Linked DNA regions of Homo sapiens: all the other regions are linked to region 3. Evidence: promoter capture Hi-C in human tissues and cell types (Jung and others, 2019). All regions are on one chromosome and are shown on one strand. The core of a region is centred on a gene start or on the middle of the fragment in contact, and the rest is flanking DNA. Distances in the headings are between cores, read along the strand shown.

What was found. Contacts are between HindIII fragments. The study calls those that stand out against the background at their distance.
Region 1: the fragment with the promoter of PTTG1IP here is called in contact with the fragment with the promoter of POFUT2 in region 3 in 2 of the 25 tissues and cell types used here (dorsolateral prefrontal cortex and lymphoblastoid cells).
Region 2: a fragment that was not itself captured here is called in contact with the fragment with the promoter of POFUT2 in region 3 in 2 of the 25 tissues and cell types used here (H1 embryonic stem cells and mesendoderm cells).
Region 4: a contact is called between a fragment that was not itself captured here and the fragment with the promoter of POFUT2 in region 3, in 1 of the 25 tissues and cell types used here (spleen).
Region 5: a contact is called between a fragment that was not itself captured here and the fragment with the promoter of POFUT2 in region 3, in 2 of the 25 tissues and cell types used here (H1 embryonic stem cells and thymus).
Region 6: a fragment that was not itself captured here is called in contact with the fragment with the promoter of POFUT2 in region 3 in 1 of the 25 tissues and cell types used here (spleen).

Annotation. Positions count from the first base shown.
Region 1 is chr21:44,871,732-44,875,208 of GRCh38, forward strand. PTTG1IP (PTTG1 interacting protein) reads right to left here and starts at 1,959. Exons shown (of 6, transcript NM_004339.4): 1 at 1,771-1,959. The coding sequence starts at 1,885. RefSeq lists enhancers at 1,080-1,580, 1,581-2,081, 2,239-2,916 and a silencer at 1,673-2,322. The HindIII fragment of the contact is 14,261 bases long and covers 1-3,477 here.
Region 2 is chr21:45,576,254-45,579,487 of GRCh38, forward strand. No RefSeq gene overlaps it. Among named protein-coding and RNA genes, the nearest start is that of LINC01694, 16 kb to the right of the region's middle. RefSeq lists an enhancer at 2,686-3,187. The HindIII fragment of the contact is 5,985 bases long and covers 1-3,234 here.
Region 3 is chr21:45,286,133-45,289,309 of GRCh38, forward strand. POFUT2 (protein O-fucosyltransferase 2) reads right to left here and starts at 1,763. Exons shown (of 9, transcript NM_133635.6): 1 at 1,609-1,763. The coding sequence starts at 1,739. LINC00205 (long intergenic non-protein coding RNA 205) reads left to right here and starts at 1,920. Exons shown (of 3, transcript NR_026943.1): 1 at 1,920-2,112. RefSeq lists a silencer at 1,690-2,219 and an enhancer at 2,374-3,104. The HindIII fragment of the contact is 23,447 bases long and covers 1-3,177 here.
Region 4 is chr21:45,657,027-45,660,252 of GRCh38, forward strand. All of the region lies in intron 1 of PCBP3 (poly(rC) binding protein 3), which reads left to right. Among named protein-coding and RNA genes, the nearest start is that of PCBP3, 15 kb to the left of the region's middle. The HindIII fragment of the contact is 6,952 bases long and covers 1-3,226 here.
Region 5 is chr21:45,003,211-45,006,439 of GRCh38, forward strand. PICSAR (P38 inhibited cutaneous squamous cell carcinoma associated lincRNA) reads right to left here and starts at 1,517. Exons shown (of 2, transcript NR_024089.2): 1 at 1,234-1,517. RefSeq lists an enhancer at 1-139. The HindIII fragment of the contact is 7,508 bases long and covers 1-3,229 here.
Region 6 is chr21:45,628,513-45,631,840 of GRCh38, forward strand. No RefSeq gene overlaps it. Among named protein-coding and RNA genes, the nearest start is that of PCBP3, 14 kb to the right of the region's middle. The HindIII fragment of the contact is 3,110 bases long and covers 1-2,981 here.

The DNA of each region.
Region 1 (3,477 bases), core at 709-3,208, 410 kb before region 3:
CTCTCTCCAAGGACAAGGGGCACGCAGACACCAAAGGCGCCTGGGCAGTGAATGCCAACATGACACGGCACCATTCTTCCTATTCCAAGGGGTCCCCAGTGAGAGAAACAACAGTCCACCCACCAGGACTTGGTGATTACCATAAGTGGAAGCAAGCAAGTGCAGCCTCCAAGTGCAGACACACCGAATGGCTTTTCAGCTGACACACCGAATGGCAGTTCCGGATTAATTCCCACACTGTCCACTCCACTCGTCCACACCCATCTCTGCACCCTTCAGCAGTGCAGAGCAGGAGGAATCACAGTCAAACAAAACCTCATGGTTGTTTTCCTGACACTCCCGCTTTCACAATGCAAGCAAACACACCCCCGAGCCACTGATACAGTTGCCAGTGAATCACACACTCTGCCTGCAGACGCCCATTCTGTTTGTGGAAACGTATTCACTGCACATTTGCGCTTAGAACTCAATCTGGGCCAAAAGTTCCCAGTACAGTCCCACTGGCCTCCTTGACTAACAAACTTCAAGGCAGCTGCATTGCTAACGTCACAAACCCTAAGCACACTTGGAGGCAGGTAAGAAGAAACACAAATAATCCTGCATCGGAATAAACATTCCATAAGGTCACAAAAAGAAAAGGTGCTCTACTATGCTAAACAGACACTGACAGAGCCTGGGCTAACAAGAGCTGAGAAAAGTATTAGCCCCTCAAGCTGGGCCCAGGTCAACCCTAATTGTAAGGGTCAGGAAACTGAAGTTAAGGTGGCACTATTCCCCACCACTAGTGGTCACCTGGAAACTCCACACACGGAAGCCAGCATGACATTGTGAAACAGGTCCAACCATGACACTCTCCAGCTTAGAACCTGCTGGATTTTCCCGCAGCCCACCAGGCCCTGGAGGCCCAGCCCCACAGGAAGCCACCCTCTATAAACACTGCCGGTTTCTGGAACTCTGAGTCTCCTGTCATGCACTTTCCTCCCCCAGCCCCCGCGCCCTCACTGCTTCTTTCTTGGTCAGCCTCCCGGGGACTCAGCTCCTCTTGGATAGGAGCTCTGGCTGTCGGTCACCACTGTGGCCGCAGGGCCTGGTGCAGACGGGATAAACGATGAAGAATGCCACCTGCGCGTCTGGACAGCGTAGAACCGCAATCAGCTTGCTTCAAAATCAGATGCTACAGCCTGGCTTTGGGGACGCCTTCCTTTCTAAGGCATAAGTGCGAGCGTTCGCTGCTGTGCGTGGAACTGCGGCCGGGAGGGAGTGGCGGCGTGAACGCCGGCGGCTGTAGAGACACACCGGCCGCGGCCCCATCACCCTGCAGGGGCCTGCGGCCGCCATCCCGGCCTGCCCCCGACCAGCTGTGCGACCTCGAACACGTCGTGAGCCGGCTTCCCGGCTCGGGATCGAACCCGAGGAGTGCTGTTTGGGGTCGCAGTGAGGCTAAGGGAGGCCGCAGGTGCCAAGCGTCCCGCCTGCCGGGCGAGGGCCAACCCGAGGCCACGCGCGAGGAGCGGCCGCAGCGACTGGACAAAACAAAGACAAAGACAAAGACGGCTCTTCCCCTGCCCGCGCCCCAGCCGCGACGGCAGCTCCCGCGGCCGCCAAACGGGCGTGACCCTCGAGGAGCCTCCGTCGGGGCGCTGCCTGCGACCGTGGGCCCAGGCCGCCCGCCGAGCCCAGCGCCCTGGCCGAAACCCCGACCCCGACCCCGACCTGGACCCACCAGCCGCCCCGCCCCCTTCGCGGCCCCGCCCGCCCCGGCGCCCTCACCAGCTCCGGGAGGCTCCTGCGCGGCGGCCACCGGGATGAGCAGCAGGAGCAGCGCGGCGCCACCGAGGCGCAACCTCCAGTACGGCGTCGGCCCGCGGGCCACTCCGGGCGCCATGGTCGGCCGGTCGCTCTATCAGTCAGTGGAGCGTTACAACTCCGACTCCAGCACAAGCGGTCTCCGCCCGGAACAGCCGCGGCGCCGGAAGTGGACCTGCGAGGTGGGGCCATGCGAGTGCGCAGCCTCAAAAAGCAGCTCGCCCCGCTCCCTCGCCATCTGCCCCGCCCCTCGCCAACGGGCTCGCCTCCCGGCGCGGCTGAGGTTCAGTGCGCCTGCGCGATAGAGGAAAGGAGCCTGGTAGCGAGGAGAGCGGCTGAGGCTCAGTGCGCCTGCGCGGCGCGGATGGGCGAGGCGTGACCGAGGGGCGAGGCGTGACCGAGGGGCGAGGCGTGACCGAGGGGCGAGGCGTGACCGAGGGGCGAGGCGTGACCGAGGGGCGAGGCGTGACCGAGGGGCTCGCCGCGGCTCCTGCGCCTGCGCGGCGGGGAACGGCGACCGGCTGAGGGGACTAGGGGAGCGCGGTGCTTCGGTGGCGGAGGTCACGGTGGCCTCCATCCTAAAGGGCTGCGGGCGTCCCGGACGGCGGTCCCAAGCGCTGCTCACGCTGCTCTTAAGTGAGCCCTGGACGAGGCGCGGTGGGCCCTCATAGTCCGCGCCGGCGCCCTCGCTCCACACCGCGGCGTCCGGCCCTGGGCTCCCGCCGATGTCCGCGTGGGACTTTTAGGGGATTTGTTTATTTTTGTACGTTAACCACACTAGAAACGGCCCCAGAATGGGCTGAAACGTGTGCTGCTGAAGCTGCCACCTAAACTCCCGAGAGAAGCGCCGTTTCTCCTCCATGGCTTCTCGCCGACGCCCTCGCTGCGGCCTTCCGGGCCCCTCGGTTGATAAAAGGACTAAATAGTGACGGACATTTTTAAGGCTACTTAAGAAATGGCAAAAATACATTTAGAGGTGTGAACCCGAACACACTGCGCGCTTTAAGCCCCGCGAGAGCCGGGGCCGCCCGCTTCTGTGCGCCCGTAGCTCCTTTCTCGGGTCCGGGATTCGCCGGTGCCGGGGACAGAAACCTCCTGCCTTCTTAGTTCATGACCCTTGTAGATGAACTTCCCTGTTTTCTGCACTGCTTAGACCAGAAGACGGGAAACCGTGACTGCCGCACCCTTCCCTGAAGCAGGCACTGCCCGTCGTCCATCAAACGCGAGGACTGCGCCCACCTCGTAGGAAGGACGCCGCGGTCCTGCTAAAAGCCTCCGCCTCTGCCTGCCCGAGGGCACCCTTCCCCTCCCCGCTTCCGAGGGCGGACTCCATTCCTCTGGAGCCGGTGTTTCCGGGTGGGCCAGCCTCCAACTGCCTTTGAATAACCCCCCCTTACATTAGATTCTGACCCTGTGGTGATTTTAGGTTGGGATTTGGGCGCCTGCAGATGGCTCCGAAGCCAGCCTCTTGTGATCCGAGCCACTTCTCTGGCACTCGGAGCGCTGGCACCCGCGGAGCGGCCTTGGTTCACCGGACCGCCTGGGAACCTGGCCGGGGTCTCTGGCAGCCTCCCAGGGCTGAGGTTCAGACTCTGTTCCGCCTACCCAGGTCCACACCTGATAGGGCTGGAGTTGAGGCTTGGTTTTAAGGCAAGAGTTTCGTTTGTTATT
Region 2 (3,234 bases), core at 406-2,905, 290 kb after region 3:
CCCTGCCTGCAGGGCCGGTGCTGTGAGCAGCTCTGGGGTCATGGCTTGGTTTCTCCCTGGCAAACTGGTGCCTTCACAGCTGATTTATATTTCAAACATGGACGCCATCTCCCTGGCCCCTCACACCGCGTTAGCGGCCCAGCCTGTATTCCATTAGCTGATTAAGCCTTTTCTTGTCCTTCATTTGTTAGAAATAGAAGTTGGCTGAACCCCCCAAGCTTTCACCAATAACATCTTTTTTTGTCCTTTGTTTCCGTCTTCCTCTCGTTGACAATAAAAGTCTTCTCTCCTTCTTCAGAGACACTGGCTGTCCTTCTGCCCCACCCAGCCCCCGGTCCCTGCCAGGGAAAGGTGCGCCCCCCGGAACCACCTGGGAAGGACACTGCGGGGCCTGTGAGCTTGTTCAGCTGCTGGCTCAGCTCAGCTGGAACCTCCAAAATGAGGCTGAAGCTGCCTGGGGTATGCTCCTGGTTTCCATGGGTCTTCGGGGCCATCAACCTACAGGTCGATTTTGAGGGTGAGACAACCCTTGAGTTCCCCCTGGGGCAGGGCCAGGGGCCGGGAATAAGAGGTGGCATCTGGGGAGCTGCCCGTGGCAAGGGATGCTGCAGAGAGAGACGAAAGGTCAGTTCCCACCTCTCCCCAGACAGCCTCGGGCTGTACAGGAAAGCGTGCCACGGCACCAAGCAATGCTTGACACTGATTCACGCCTCTGAACACATGATGCCATCCCTTCTCACGGTGAGGAGGACCCGTCAGAGCGACCCGGGCCCATGCACCATCCCACCCCTGACACAGGGCAGCCCGTGCCTTCCTGCCAGTGGCTGCAGTGGTCTGGGCGAGCAGCCCTCACCTCGCAGGAAGCAGTGCTTGCCTGCCTCTTATGGCTTCTGGCCCAGGGGTTACATCTCTCTGGACCACGTGGCACTGCCTGGGCACTCCTTGGAGGGGCTTCAGCTGTGCAGACACCCCTGCTGAGGACGCCTCCTCACTAGCCCCCCAGGCACTCCCAGGGTGGGGGGCTCTGTTTAGTGCTGCTGGCTCTGGGCCACAAGCCACCCAGCTGGCTGGCAGCTCCACCACACCAGGGAGTGATTGGCACTTTTCGGCAGGAAGAAGAGGGCAGCTGTGCCGGATCCGCAAGATTTCACGGAATCAGAAAGTCCTTCCTGAACTCCGTTCAACAAGAATCCAGACGCTCAATTGGACCCATGAGGTTTCAAAGTTGCCAAGGCTGTGAGCCCCAGGAGTTAGAGGGTGAGGGTCCTGCCCAGCTGGGAAGCCACGTGGCCCAACGGCCAGGACACAAGATGCCATGGGGCAAGCACTCTGCCTCTGTGGGCCCTCCCTCCACAAAACATCAAAAATCCTGTTTTACGTCTGTGTTGATAAGAAGCCCAAATGTGCTAATATTATATATGAAAACATTTTATTTGATCTAAAATTTCTTTTTTCTTTTCTTATGATTTAAAAGTAATTACAACAGTGTTGTGGGCTCTGAGTTGGCCTGGGGGAGGCTGGGGGTGACTAGGGAGGTGGCTACTGGGGGCCCCTGAAGGACCTGGAGGAGCTTGGCGACTCCGGTGGTGAGAACCAGGGCAGGAGGACCACCGGGTGACAGGCAGGAGAGGCAGGACAATCCACCTGCTCAGGGGGCCCGGGTGGGCTGCGTGGGGTGCATCCCGGCTTAGGAAAGGGCCTCGACAGCTGGCCATTGCACAGCCCCGTGGCAGGTGGGTGGAGGGTTGCTGATCTGACCCTCAGATCCTGCCCACGTGACCCTGGATGCCTGGAGCTAGGGCACAGCCAGGCCCCGCCATGGGGCTGGAGGTGAGCTTTGCACGTGCTTGGACTCCCCAGGGTCAGGTGAGTGGTGACAGTGACCAAGTCTGCACTTGGGGTCATGTGAGTGGTGACCGTGATGTCTGCACTAGCTTTTGGGGAAGGTGCGTGGTCTCACACCCAAGGTGGGGAAGAAGGTTTGGCATGGCCTGGAAAGTTCCTGAGCCTTCACTGCCCTTCAGGGAGCCTGGGAGGGGCCTGGGGGACTGGGGCTGGTGTGGTCTCCACTCGGGACCTGCACGCGCCCCAGGCAGGCAGCGAGGCCAGCAGGCAGAGGTGGGTGAGTGTCCTCGCCGTGTGACTCTGGCCCGTCCTTAGCCACGGGGGCTCCTGTGTGGGTAGCTGTCGCAGGCCCACTCCTCCTTTCCGAACCCCAGAATCGATTTCCTGGTGGAGGTGTGAGGACGCGTCGCAGCTGTCTCTCTCTGAACCTGCTGCAGGTTCTGGCCCGAGTGCCTGGATGCCAGACACCCGCGAGCTCTGCATCAGACCCGCCTGCCTGGGCAGCCTGGGGCTCACCTCTTGTTTGTCTTTCAACCTGAGCTGGCCCTGAGCCAGTTTGTACAAAGAGTCTGTCGCTTTGATGGGACTTTTCCCTGGCACTGGCTGGATGTCCAATCACCACCCTGCACCCACATCCCTCCCACTCAGCCTGGAGCTCTGCACTCAAGTGCTGCGTCTTCAGGGTGTCTCTGCCAAACTCCACTCGAATCAGGACTCCAGCTGCCACGATGTGCATTCCCAGCCCTGGTCCCTCCCTGCCCTGACAGGGTTCCCCCCACCCCGCTCCCAATCCAGACAGGGTTCCCCCCGCCCCGCTCCCAATCCAGACAGGGTTCCCCCTGCCCCGCTCCCAATCCAGACAGGGTTCCCTCCACCCTGGCCTGCAGTTCCTGGAGAGGAGTGCTTCCGGGGGAGGAGAGGGTCACCTCTTGTGCACAGCACCCCTGGGATGCGGGTGCCCCTGGGATGCGGGTGGCCCTGGGATGCAGGTACCCCTGGGATGGGGGTGCCCCTGAGATGCGGGTACCCCTGGGATGCGGTGGCCCTGGGATGGGGGTGCCCCTGGGATGAGGGCAGCCCTGGGATGCGGGTACACCTGGGATGGGGGTACCCCTGGGATGCGGGCGCCCCTGGGACGTGGGCGGCCCTGGGACGGGGGTGCCCCTGGGATGGGGGTGCCCCTGGAATGGAGGCGCCCCTGGGATGCGGGTGGCCCTGGGACACGGGTGCCCCTGGGATGGGGGTGCCCCTGGGATGCAGGCGGCCCTGGGATGCGGGTACCCCTGGGATGGGGGCGCCCCTGGGATGCGGGCAGCCCTGGGATGCAGGTGCACCTGGGATGGGGGTGCCCCTGGGATGGGGGTGCCCCTGGGATGCGGGCAGCCCTGG
Region 3 (3,177 bases), core at 513-3,012:
TTTAACAATTAGCAATAGTTCAACACTAAGGCAGAGGAATCCCAGTGACTGGAACCCAAGAATCAGTACCCACATGGTTCTCAAACTGTTTGGTTTAAAGACCCCTTTACACTGGAAACAATGACTGACGGCTGGTTATGTGCACTATGTCTATTGATACGTCCTATGTTAGACGTTAAAGCTACAAGTATTTAATTCAGCTAAAAATAAGAAGCCATTACATGTTAACAAAAACCACATATTTAAATAAAAAATAAGTGTATTTTAAAAAATGAATTAGAAGAACTGTGATGATGTTCTTAATTTTTGCAAATCTCTTTTGGGTTTGGTGACAGCTGGATTCCCATACCCGTTTCTGCATTCAATCTGTTGTGACATCACAGATCAAGTGGTTTCTAGGAAAACTCCACAGTGCATTCATGAGAAGTGAAAAAGGCGTATAATACTCTGGTACTACTATTAAAACGGCTACAAAAGCTCAGAGATCCAGGACACACTTTAAGATCACTGCCCTAGAGGAAGGACACAAAGCGCCCCAAGGCACAGACAAGTCCCCAAGGCACAGACAAGTCCCCAAGGGCTACAGAAACCCTGTCCCTGGCGCTCTCCTTTCCCTGCTCTGCGCTGGTTTTCCATACTCCCATCGTCGCGAGTGAAGCTGCGTGCAGCGCCCAGGCCTGCGAACGCCACGAGGGGCCGTGCACACCTCTGCGTCCAGGCCCCTCCCGGGGTCCGCTTGGAGATCCCACAGCCACAGGGCGGCCGCGAAGCTCGTCTTGGCCCTGAGAATTCACTGCGGAGCGCCCGCCCGGCACTGACTCCCGGCTCCGCACACCCAGGCCTGGACCCGTGTCACTTGCAGGGGCCTCCGGAGCCAGCCCACGCTCAGCCTGAGCAACCCGGCCCCCTTCCTGGGCTCCCGAGGCTGCGCCCCGGGCCTCGCAGACGACCCCGCCTGCAGACCCGGGCCGCAGTGACGCAGCCTCGACTACAGCCAACCCGCTGGCCCGACCCTGCCCCCAGCCCCCGCCCCATCCCATCCCCCAGACTCCAGCCCGGCCCCGGCCCCTGCCCCTGCCCCTGCCCCTGTCCCGTCCCCGTCCCATCCTTCTTGGCCCCGGCTCCCGCCCCGCCCCCATCCCATCCCTCGGGCCCCCGTTCCTGCCCCCATCCCATCCCACCCCTCCTGGCCCTAGCCCCTGCCCCGCCCCCATCCCATCCCATCACCCTGGCCCCTGCCCCGCCCCCATCCCATCCCATCGCCCTGATCCCTGCCCCGCCCCCATCCCATCCCTCCTGGCCCCTGCCCCCTGCCCCTATACCATCACCCTGGCCCCTTACTCCGCCACATTCCTTGCCCCAGAACCCTGACCCCATCCCATTCCCCTGACCCCTGCCCCCTGACCCCGCTCCATCCCATCCCCCTGGCCCCTGCCCCATAACTCCGCTCCATTCCATCTCCCTGGCCCCGGACCACCCTCCATCCCGTGGGCCTGCCCCTGACCCCATCCCATCTCCCTGGCCCCTGACCCCGCCCCGCCCCCATCCCATCCTCTGACCCTGCCCGGTCCTGGAACCCCAGCGTTGGCACCGTGGACGCGCGTTTACCGTCTGCGGGAAGCCGCCCCCGACAGAATATCGGCCGCCGATTGTCCGGGCCAGAACTCCTGGCCGGAGGCAGAAGCCGGAGGCCAGGACACTGCCCCCAGCAGCAGGAAGACGAAGCTGAGTGTCGCCATGGCCCCGGGCGGCCACGCACTTCCGGCGGCCGCGCCCCGCCCCGGAACCACGCCCCGCCCCCGTGAAATGCGTTCCCAGTAGCCACGGCAACGCCCAGCTCCGCCCTCCCCGCGCATGCGTTATGCGCCATCACCGGCAAGCAGGGGCGGGAGGGGGAACTGCGCGTGCGCAGAGTCTCCGCCCTCCTGACCGCAGCGGCTAGAGGTTCCATTGCAGACCCGGAGGCCGTGGCTGTGGTTCGCGGCGGTGCTGTCGCGGGCGCCCTGGCGCAGCCCACGCAGGGGCTCCTGAGGGTCCGCGAGGCCGGGAGGTCCGGGGGTCGGGAGGTCCCGGGGTCGGGAAGTCGGTGGACCCTGCAGGCCAGTGGGGAGGGTACGCGAGACTGGGGGCCGGGAGGGCTGACGGCTGGTGGCGCGGGGCGGGTCCGTGGGGAGGAGGCCCGGGGCTGGTAGGGGCGGGAGGGCTGGACGGCGGGGGCGGGGCGGAGGAGGGGGTCCGTAGACGGGGTCGGCGCCGGGTGCTCTCGCCCCTCTGGAGCTGGGGTCGGGGCGGGAGCCGCGCATGAGAGCCTGGGTTTCTAGTCGGGGGGCGCCGTCGAGCTCCACACCTGCGGCCTCCTGGGTGCCCCCAACCCTGGAGCCCCGGCGAGGGGGCACCCGGGCTGAGGCCTGGCCCTCCAAGGAGCCCTGGAGGGACTGTGCTGCTAGGGCGCGGGGCTCGATGGGGTGATCTGGAGACCTGGGGGGATCCGGGGCTGCCGCCCCTGCGCTGCCAACCTCCCACCCCGCCCCTTCTGCGAGGCGTTATTAAAGGTCTGGTTTCGGGAGCCAGGTGCGTGCCCGCCGCCGCCGCTCCCCGCAGCCTCCAGGCAGCTCCCGCTGTTCCCCGAGGGCACCAGCACTGGCCGACCGACCTGGCTTGGGGCGCGGCGCTGGCAAACCCGGCCTTCTGAGGGGACGCCACGCTGACTCTAGTGCAGGCAGCCCCCAAAACGGTATAATTGGACGAATTTCTTGAAGGATGCCAGTTACCAAAAAAGAAAATACTAATGCTTATTATCTGTTAAATTTGAGATCAATTTGTTATCAAATTTTCTCACACAGAAAATTCCAGGCCCAGAGGGCCAAGCTGGTGAATCCTACTTAGAGAAGAAATAATAGGAATCCAGCCACTCAGACGATGGACGAGGAGGGGCACTTCCCTGCTCGATGTATGGGCCAGCATTGCCTTGATAGCAAAGTCAGACATCACCAGACAGTAGAACCACAGACCAATGTCTTTCATGAACCAAGACACAGCATTTAAAAAAATTAGCAAATGGAATTTATATCTGCCTATTGTTTACAAAAAAAGCCAAACTTTGTAAAATACTTGAAGAGATTTATTCTGAGCCAAATATGACCCATGACACAGCCTCAGGACGTCCTGAGAACTTGG
Region 4 (3,226 bases), core at 723-3,222, 370 kb after region 3:
TAGCCAGGATGGTCTCGCTCTCCTGACCTCGTGATCCACCTGCCTCGGCCTCCCAAAGTGCTGGGATTACAGGTGTGAACTACCGTGCCCAGCCTCATTTTCTTGATAGTATCCTTTGATGCACAAATGATTTTTATTTTGGTAATACTGCATTTATCTATTTTTTTCTTTTGTTGCTTGTGCTTTGTCATATTTAAGACATTGCTTAATCCTAGGTCACAAAGATTTACACCTCCGTTTTATTCTAAGGGTTTTATAGTTTTAGCTCTGAAATTTAGGTCTTTGGTGCGTTTTGAGTTAATTTTTGTCTATGGTATGAAGGAGGAGTTTAACTTCATTCTTCTGCCTGTGGCTGTCTAGTCCTAGTACCATTTGTTCAAAAGACTACCTATTGAATGGCCTTAGCACTTCTGTCAAAACTCAGTTGACCATAAAATATGGGTTTATTTCTGAACTCTCAACTCTATTCCATGGACCTATATGTCTCTCTCTATGCCAGCAGCACACAGTCTTGATTATTGTAGCTTTGTAGTAAGTTTTAAGATTGGAAAGTGTGAGTCCTTCAACTTTGGTCTTTTTATTTATTTTGGTTATTCCTGGTCCCTTGCATTTTCATATGATTTTTAGGTTTGGTTTGTCACTTTCTGGAAAAAAAAAAAGGCAGGTAGAATTTTGATGGGGATTAATTGAATCTGTAGATAATTCGGGGAGTATTGTCAGGTTAACAATATTAAGTTTTCCAATCCATGAGCATAGGATTTAGTAGCTATAATAGTTTTTTAGTGGATTCCTGAGGATTTTTTATATGCAAGATTATATTATCTGCAGATATAGATACTTTTAATTCTTTGCTTCTAATCTGCATGCCTTTTTAAAATTTTTCTCATGTAATTGCCCTGGTTATAAGCTTTAACACAATGTTTAATTGTTGTGGCAAGGGTGGACATCATTGTTTGTTCCTTATCTTAGGGGGAAAGCTTTTAGCCTCTCACCAGTAAGTATAGGTAGCTGTGAATTTTTATAGATGCCCTTAATTAGGTTGAGGAATTTCCCTTCTATCCCTATTTTGTTGAGTGTTATTATCATGAAAGCGTGTTGAATGTTGTCAGATGCTTTTCCTGCATCTATACTGTTATTTTTGTCCTTTATTATATTAATGTCATGTATTACATTGATTCAGTTTTGTATGTTGAGCCAACTTTGAATTCCCTAGATAAATCCCACTTGTCATGGCATATAATCCTTTTTATATATTGGTGGATTCGGTTTTGCAAGTGTTTTGTTGAGGATTTTTTGAGATGGAGTCTCACTTTGTCACCCAGGCTGGAGTGCAGAGGTGCGATCTCAGCTCACTGCAGCCTCTGCCTCCTGGAGTCAAGCGACTCTCCTGCCTCAGCCTCCTGAGTAGCTGGGATGACAGGTGCGTGCCACCATGCATGGCTAATTTTTGAATTTTTAGTTGAGACAGGGTCTTACCATGTTGGCCAGGCTGGTCTTGAACTCCTGACCTCAAGTGCTCTGCCTGCCCTGGCATCCCAAAATGCTGGGATTACAGACATGAGCCGCCACACCCAGCCTTGTTAAGGATTTTTAAGTTTGTATTCTTAAGACATGTTAATCTATAGTTTTCTTGTGATCTCTTTGTCTGGTTTTGGTATTAGGGTAATACTGGCCTTATAGAATGAGTTGGCAAGTGTCCGTTTCTCCTTGTGAAGGATTGGTGTTCATTCTTTAAATGTTTGATAGAATTTAATAGTGAAGCCATCTGTTTCTAATTTTTCCTTGTGGGAAATTTTTAAAATACTGAATATCTTTACTTGTTTTAGGTTTTTTTCAGATGTACTGTTTTTTAAGTTTTGATAGTTTCTGTCTTTCTAGGAATTTGTGAATTTCACCTAGGTTATCTAATTTATTGGCCATCAGTTGTTCATAATATTTCTTTATAGTCCTTTTATTTCTGTAAGGTTGGTAGTTTTCTTTCTGATTTTAGTAAATTGAGTCTTCCCTCTTTTTTTCTTGGTCATTCTAGATAAAAGTTTGTCAGTTTCATTGGTCTTTTTTTAAAAAAAAAACTTTGGTTTCATTGTTGTTTTTCTATTTTCTGTTTCATTTTTGCTCGAATATTTGTTTTTTTCTTTCTTCCACTTGCAAAGGTTTAGTTGGCTCTTTTTCTGATTTCTTAAGGTAGAACGTTAGGTTATTGATTTGAGATATTTCTCTTTTAACATAGGTGTTTACAGCTATAATTTTGTAAGAACTGCTTTTACTGCCTTTCATAAGTTTTGATATGTTGTGCTTTCTTTTACTTTCCTTTTTTTTTTTTTTTTTTTTTTTGAGACAGGGCCTTGGTCTGACACCCAGGCTAAAGTGCATTGGTGCCATCACAACTCACTGCAGCCTCAACTTTGAGTCTCCTGAGCTCAAACGATCTTCCCACCTCATCCTCCTGAGTAGGTGGGACTATAGGTGCATTCCCCTACACCTGGCTAATTTTTTAATTTTTTGTGAGACACAGTGTCTTGTCATGTTGCTCAGACTGGTCTCGAACTCCTGGGCTCAAGCAGTCCTCCCGCTATGGCCTCCCAAAGTGCTGGGATTACAGGCGTTAGCCACTGTGCCTGGCCTCATTTTTAATGATCTCAAAGTATTTTCTAATTTCCCTTGTGGTTTCTCCCTTGACTCTGGTTATTTAGCAGTGTATTGTTAAATTTCCACAAACTTTTGAATTTCTTAAATTTTTATCTGTTACTGATTTCTATTTTTTTCCCTTGTGGTTGGGGAACATATTTTATATTACTTCAATCCTTTAAAATTTTGGGACTTATTTTCTTGGCTAACACCTGGTCTGTTCTAGAGAATGTTCCATGTGTATTTGAGAATAATGTGTTTTCTGCTTTTTGAATGGAGAATTCTATAAATGTCTGCTAGGTCTAATTAGTTTATTAGTATTGTTTAAATCTTTTGTTTTCTTTCTGATTTTCTGTCTTGCATTCCATCCTGTATTGAAAACGGACTTTTGAAGTTTCCAACTGTTACTGTTGAACTGTCTGATTCTCCCTTTTTTCTCTTAATTTTTTGTTTCATGCATTCTGGGGCTTTATTTTATATGTATACACACACACATATATATATGTATATATATGTATATAATTGTTAGAGCTTCTTGATGAATTGACCTTTTTATAGTTATAAAATATTCTTTGTCTGTAATAACAATTTTTGTATT
Region 5 (3,229 bases), core at 237-2,736, 280 kb before region 3:
CTGCTGTGGGGTCAGCTAAGACAATGGGTGTGGGACCCTCCACAAGAACAGCCCCCTGTTAACAAAATGAGACTTGAAGGAGTGAGAGCACTTCGGGGGGCCGGGTTTGTCAGGCAGAGATTGCACCAGGCAGGGGGCCGAGACTTTGGAGAGGACCTGGCTGGAGCACTCGTCTGCACACAAGGAAAACAAAGGCTCAAAGACAGGGCAGAGTTCAGACCCTCCGTTCCCAAAGTGGTGCCCCCCACCCCTCCCAGGACTGTGTCCACACAGTGGTGCCCGCCAGGGTGGGCAGGAGGTGTCCATGGACATGACTACAGCAAGGCCAGGGGCCGAGAGGGAAGGGTCAGGGAAGACTGGCCAGCTCGAGGGGATCACAGAGGCTGCCCTGGCCTTGTTCCTAGCGGACAAAATAGGACTGACAGCTACAGACAAAGCCAGGCACAGCCCAGCACAAAGACAGACAGCCGAGGAACTGTGGTGCCCCAGTAGTTAAGGGCCAGAAAGAACATTTTTAAAGATGTCAGGGTTGGCTGCCAGAATCCTCTTGTACAACATTCCATGACTGGGAGTTGTTGGGGACTTGAGTTCCAGGCTGGCTCTGCCCAGCCTTGAAAGCCTGGCTGGGCCTCGGTTGCCTCCTTGGAAAATGAGGGGCTAGACTGAGGCCCTGGGGGTCCTGGCTGTGCCCAGAGCCTGCCGTGCCAGGCCCACGAGGAGAGGTCAGGGCTGGGGGTGCCGAGCCAGCTTCCCCAGGCTCCGGGTCAGGTTATCCAGGTGGGAGGGAGGCCTAGCACCTCCCCCACTCCGAGGTCTGGCTTCTAGAATCTCCTGCAGAAACACAAACCCATCTCACTACACTGTAAACACAACATCCTTGGAATTGGAAATCAATGGCAGATGCAGGCAGATTCAGCCTCCAAAGCCACAGAAGGGCTGGGAGCGGACCGGAGCCAGGAGTTGCCACGGGAGGTGGGTGCCTGGGAGCCCCAGCACAGAGGTGGCCCCTCTCAGGCCAGGCTGGGCCGCAGCATCTGTGGGCCCCTCCACGCCCCCTCCCATCCGTGCTGGCCCCATTGGCCTGGGCTCGCAGCTGGACTGCTTCCTGGGTGGAGGCACCAGGGCCCACAGTGGTACGGCCTGGCATTGGTGCAGGCTTTTAAGCATAGATGGCATCTTTAACAAAAATGGGCTCTCACAGAATGTTTTTAAATTAAAATGTAATTCACATACCTCGGAATTTACCTCTTGAAAGTCCAGGCAGTTCAGCGGCATCCGGTCCACCCCCACTGCGGTGCAGTGCCAGGGTGAGCCAGCCACCCCCGGCGGGAGAAACACCATCCCCACAGCCGGCGCTCCTGTGCCCCCTCCTCCCAGCCCCGGGCAGGCCTCGCCTCTGTGCGTTTCCCATGGATGAGGTCATAGAGCGCGTGGCCTTCCGTGCCTGCCTCTTCCGGGCAGCAGCATGGTGGGTGTTTCTGAGGCTCCTCCGTGTCGCTCCACCCGTCAGCACTTCATGCCTCTCGGGGCTGGGCCACATTTCGTTGCAGGGATGGGCCACGTTTTTAACCTGTCCATCAGCGGACGGACGTTTGGGCTGATTTTATCTTTTGGCTATGATGAATAACGCGGTGATCAACATTGATTCACAAGTTTTGTGCGGACCCGTTTTCAGTTGTCCTGAGTATCAGCCCGGGCCTAGACTTCCCGGGTTATATGGTGATACAGTTTAAACGCATGTCCTTGCCAAGCCTCGTGTTGAACTGTCATCCCCCGTGTTGGAGGTGGGGCCTGGGGGCAGGTGTTTAGGTCACGGGCGTGACTCCCTCAGGAATGGCTTGAGCCATCCCCGTGGTGAAGAGTGAGCTCTCACTCTGGGTTCCTGTGAGATCTGGTGTTTAAACGTGTGTGGCACCTCCCCGACCCCGCTGCTCCCGCTTTCACCACGTGACTCGCCTGCTCCCCCTTCACCTTCCACCATGAGTAAGAGTTTCCTGAGGCCTCCCCAGAGGAAGAAGCCCTTATGCTCCTGTACAGCCTGCAGAACTGTGAGCCACTTAATCCTCTTCTCTTATAAATGACCTGGTCTCAGGTATTTATAGCTCCATAAAAACAGCTTAACACGTATGGTAACTCTGTGTCTAAGCATACAAGATTAAAAAAATACATTCACACCGTCTTCTGTATTGACTTCCATGGTTACCTTTACTAATGTTTTTATTTCTTCAAGTTGGTGTGAGTGGCTGTCTAGTGTCCTTACATTTCAGCCTGTAGACCTCCTTGTAGTTATCTGGTCTGCTAGTGATGAATTATCTCAGATTTTGTTTAAAAACTGTTAAAAATATTGATATATAGTATGTATACACACACACATATATATTGTATTTATATTTAGAATTTTTAATATATATAGTTTTATATATAATACATGGTATTTATATAATTTTATTTATATTTTATCATTTTATTTTGTTTATTTATTTGTATTAATTTCTCCTTCACTCCTGAAGGATAGCTATACTATTATACAATTCTCGGTTGGCAGTCTTTTTCTTTCAGCACTTTGAATATGTCATCCTACTGCTTTCTGGCCTCATGACTTCTAATAAGTCATCTGTTAATCTTATTTAGGATTCCTTGTATGAGATGAGTCCCTTCTCTCTTGCTATTTTTAGAATTCTCTCCGCTTTTCACGTTTCACAGCTTGATTATGATGTGTCTGGGTGTGGGTCTCTCTGAGTTTATTCTACTTGGAGTTTGTTGAGCGTCTAGGATGTGTAGATTAATGTTTTCATCAAAGTTGAGTTGGCTGTTATTTTTTCAAATATTCTTTCTTCCCTTGCCTCTGTCTCCTCTCCTTGTGGGACTTCATGATGTGTGTGTTTGTGTGGTTGATGGTGTCCCGGAGGTCTCTGAAGGTCTCTGTTCATTTTTCATCATTCATGTTGTTTTCGCTGCTGTTCTGTTTCTCAAGCTGGACAGGCTGACCTGTCTTCTAGTTTGTCCATTCTTCTGCCTGCTCAAATTTCTGGTGAGCCCCTACAATGAAAGCTTCATTTGAGTTATTGTACTTTTCACCTCCAGAATTTTTTTAAAGAAATAATTTACATCTCTTTGTTGTATTTTCTACTTGGTGATACACTGTTCTCATACTTTCTTTTAGCTCTTTATACATAGTTTCCTTTAGTTCTTTGGACCTATTTAAAGCAACTGATTTAAAGTCTTTGTC
Region 6 (3,328 bases), core at 177-2,676, 340 kb after region 3:
AAATATAACCAAAGACAAAACCACATGATTATCTCAAAAGATGCAGAAAAGGCCTTTGATAAAATTCAACATCCTTCATGTTAAAAACTCTCAATAAACTAGGTATCGACAGAACATATCTCAAAATAATAAGAGCTATTTATGACAGAGCCACAGCCAATATCATAGTGAACGGGCAAAAGCTGGAAGCATTCCCTTTGAAAACTGGCACAAGACAAGGATGCCCTCTCTCACCACTCCTATTCAACATAGTATTGGAAGTTCTGGCCAGGGCAATTGGCAAGAGAAAGACATAAAGCATATTCAAATAGGAAGAGAGGAAGTCAAATTGTCTCTGTTTTCCGACACCATGATTCTGTATCTTTCTTTCTTTTGAACAAGGCTGGATAGCCAACACTTTATTATGGTGTTTGTATATTGTTAGCCTAGCTCCCTGAGCAAACAGAACCTGAGGCAAAAGTCTTGTGCCTGTATTTTTCTGGGGAGTGCAATCCCAGGAAACAGGAGTGGGAAGAGGGGACTGAGGCAAGAAAGGGAGGAAGGTGACTCTCAGGGAGGTCACTGTCCACTGCCGGCTGACGTCTGGCTCCATGCTTCTCCTCAGGGACTGCGTGAAGCTCCTGCATCTCTGATCAGTGGAGCAGGGAGAGGAGTGGGACAGGGCGGACATGCCAGTTCCTGTTGCTGGCCTCATTTCACCTCAGACTCTGCGTGCAGGTGGCAGACAGCTTCCGATGCATCTCCCCCATCACAGGCAATAAGAGAGCCCTGAGAAACTAAGCAAGAGGCCTCCAGCGCTATCGGAGCTGGGTGTTGTTGGGTTTGTTGATACCTGATGGGTGGGCCCAGAAACAGCTCTCCAGGGACCCAGGAACTGGCCATGGCTGCAGGAGCAACAGCAGCCACCTAGCTGTGCACACAGGAGCCGGGAGGGATGTTCGCAATGGCTGCTCAAGCCGGACAGCAAGGCGACCATGCCAGCCTCAGTGACCTGAACGGAACCCGAGACGTGCATGCAGGAGCCGGGAGGGACGTTCGCAATCGCTGCTCAAGCCCGACAGCAAGACGACCATGCCAGCCTCAGTGACCTGAACGGAACCCGAGACAGTCCACCCCGCAAGTCTCACCCAGGAACAGATGGCCCTGGAACTGATGACAGCCTACCCTGCGTGTCTCACCTGGGAATGGATGGCCCTGGAACCGATGACAGCCCACCCCACGTGTCTCACCCGGGAATGGACAGCCCTGGTTCCTGAGGGGTGGTGCAAGTGCAATTTCTCCAGGGGTTCTCTGGTTGTAATCTACTGAAAAGCCATTAAAAGGGCTGCCGCATCAGGCTATGGTCCCTGCTGACACCGCTAATCCTGGGGCCAAACCCCATACTATCCTCTCCTTGCCCTCCCCACATCCTAGACTGGCCTCCCTCAGCTGAGCCTTGGTCTGAACTGTTCGCCCCATGGCACCCAGGCCTCGGTCATCCTGCATTGGATGGGCCATGGTTGCTGTGATTACAGCTGCCACTCAGTGCAGATCCCGAAGTGCCCCAGCAAGCTGTCAGCTGCAGGCATTCCCCTCGTTGGCCCCGTGGTACAGAAGCAAGCCTCGATCTCCACGGTGTTCAGAGCCTGCCCACTCCCCATCTCCATGTTGTTCAGAGTCTGGCCCCCCCACCCCTATCTCCACCGTTTTCGGAGCCTGGCCCCCACCATCTCCATGATGTTCGAAGCCTGGCCCCCTCATCCTGATCTCCACAGTGTTCTGAGCCTGGCACCCCCCCAACCCCAGAGATCTCCATGGTGTTCAGAGCCTGGCCCTTTCACAGGTACGGTAAGTGCATGTGTGGCTTGCCCACTGGCACGAGGAGGCCAAAGTGGCCAAATGGTGGTCATGGCTTCTAGTCTTGCAGCAACCTGTGTACGCTGGCAGGAGCCTCCCCTCAACCAGGGGGTCAAGGGTTCCAGTCCAAGAGAGCCTCAGACTTCAGCCCCAGGAAGCACAGCCATGCAAGCCGTTCACCGTGTGTGCTGGGGAGGGGCCAAACTGGCTTCTGTCCCTGGGGTCCTCAGAGCTTTGTATGCAAGGTCCCAGGGACACGGGATCATTTCCTGACCATGGGCTCAGCACGGATCCTACGTCCTGGAGTGCAGTTCCTGGGCCAGACGGGCCCAGGCTTTCTTAGAGCTGCCGCCCATGCCGGGCCATTCGCAAGTCTCCCTTCACTGGTAGGCTGACTGCTTCTGGGTGATGGGTCTGTGGTAACGCCAGTGAATTCCATGGTCAAGTGCCCGTCATCAGACCTTCTTTACCTTGAAGAGGTCTCTGGGTGCAAGGCAGGTGCTTTGTGAAATACTGTCATAAATGTTTAATGCAGCATAAGGAGCCACCTACGAACTTAGTGGCCTGAAACCCCAATGTGTTATCTCTCACTGTGCTGGGGGCCGGCAGGATCAGCCCGGTGTTCTGTTCTCATGTTGGTCCTTCACATGGGTGCAGTCAGATGGCGGCCGAGGCTGGAATCATCCGAAAGCTTCTTCACTGGGACGCGGTCAGATGGCGGCCGAGGCTGGAATCGTCCGAAAGCTTCTTCACTGGGATGCGGTCAGATGGCGGCCGAGGCTGGAATCGTCCGAAAGCTTCTTCACTGGGACGCGGTCAGATGGTGGCCGAGGCTGGAATCGTCTGAAAGCTTCTTCACTGGGACGCTGTATCTGCTGCAGGGATCTCTCCTTCTATGAAGCCCCTCCCTTTGTCCAGCTGGGGTTTCCTCACGGCATGGTAAGGCCAGCACAGTTGGATCTTATGTGCTGGCTGGCTTTTCCCAGAGTGAGCAATCCCAGAGGGAAGAATTTGAAGGTCGACCCCAGAAATGGCACAGCATTGCTTCTACTATACTGTATTGGCCAAAGAACCCGCCCAGTTTCAAAGACAAGGAACACAGGTTTCACCTTTTGATGGGAGGGCTGTCAAAGAATTTGTGAGCGTCTTTAATCTTCTATGTCAGCAAGTCAGTGAGGTTCAAATTCTGAAAGCCACTGCCAGGGGAGCTGGAAGACACAGGGAGGGTGGGAAGACAGCCCCACACCCCGAGTGCGGGTCAAGTTCTGTAAGGATGAGTTGCCCTCTCCTCCAAGGCGAGAGGAGTTTGAGGTCATTGGTTTGCCTCCACGAGGCAGGCTGGTCTCCCCCAAGAGCAGGGCCAGGTCAGAAACGGTGCTGGTCCGTGCTCTAGCAAGCCAGCCTTGATGAGGAGACCCATGCTGCTGGGCCCAGGCCAAGCTTTCAGCCTTTCTCTCTGGTGTGCTCTGTTCCTGGCTCAGTTGGCTGATGG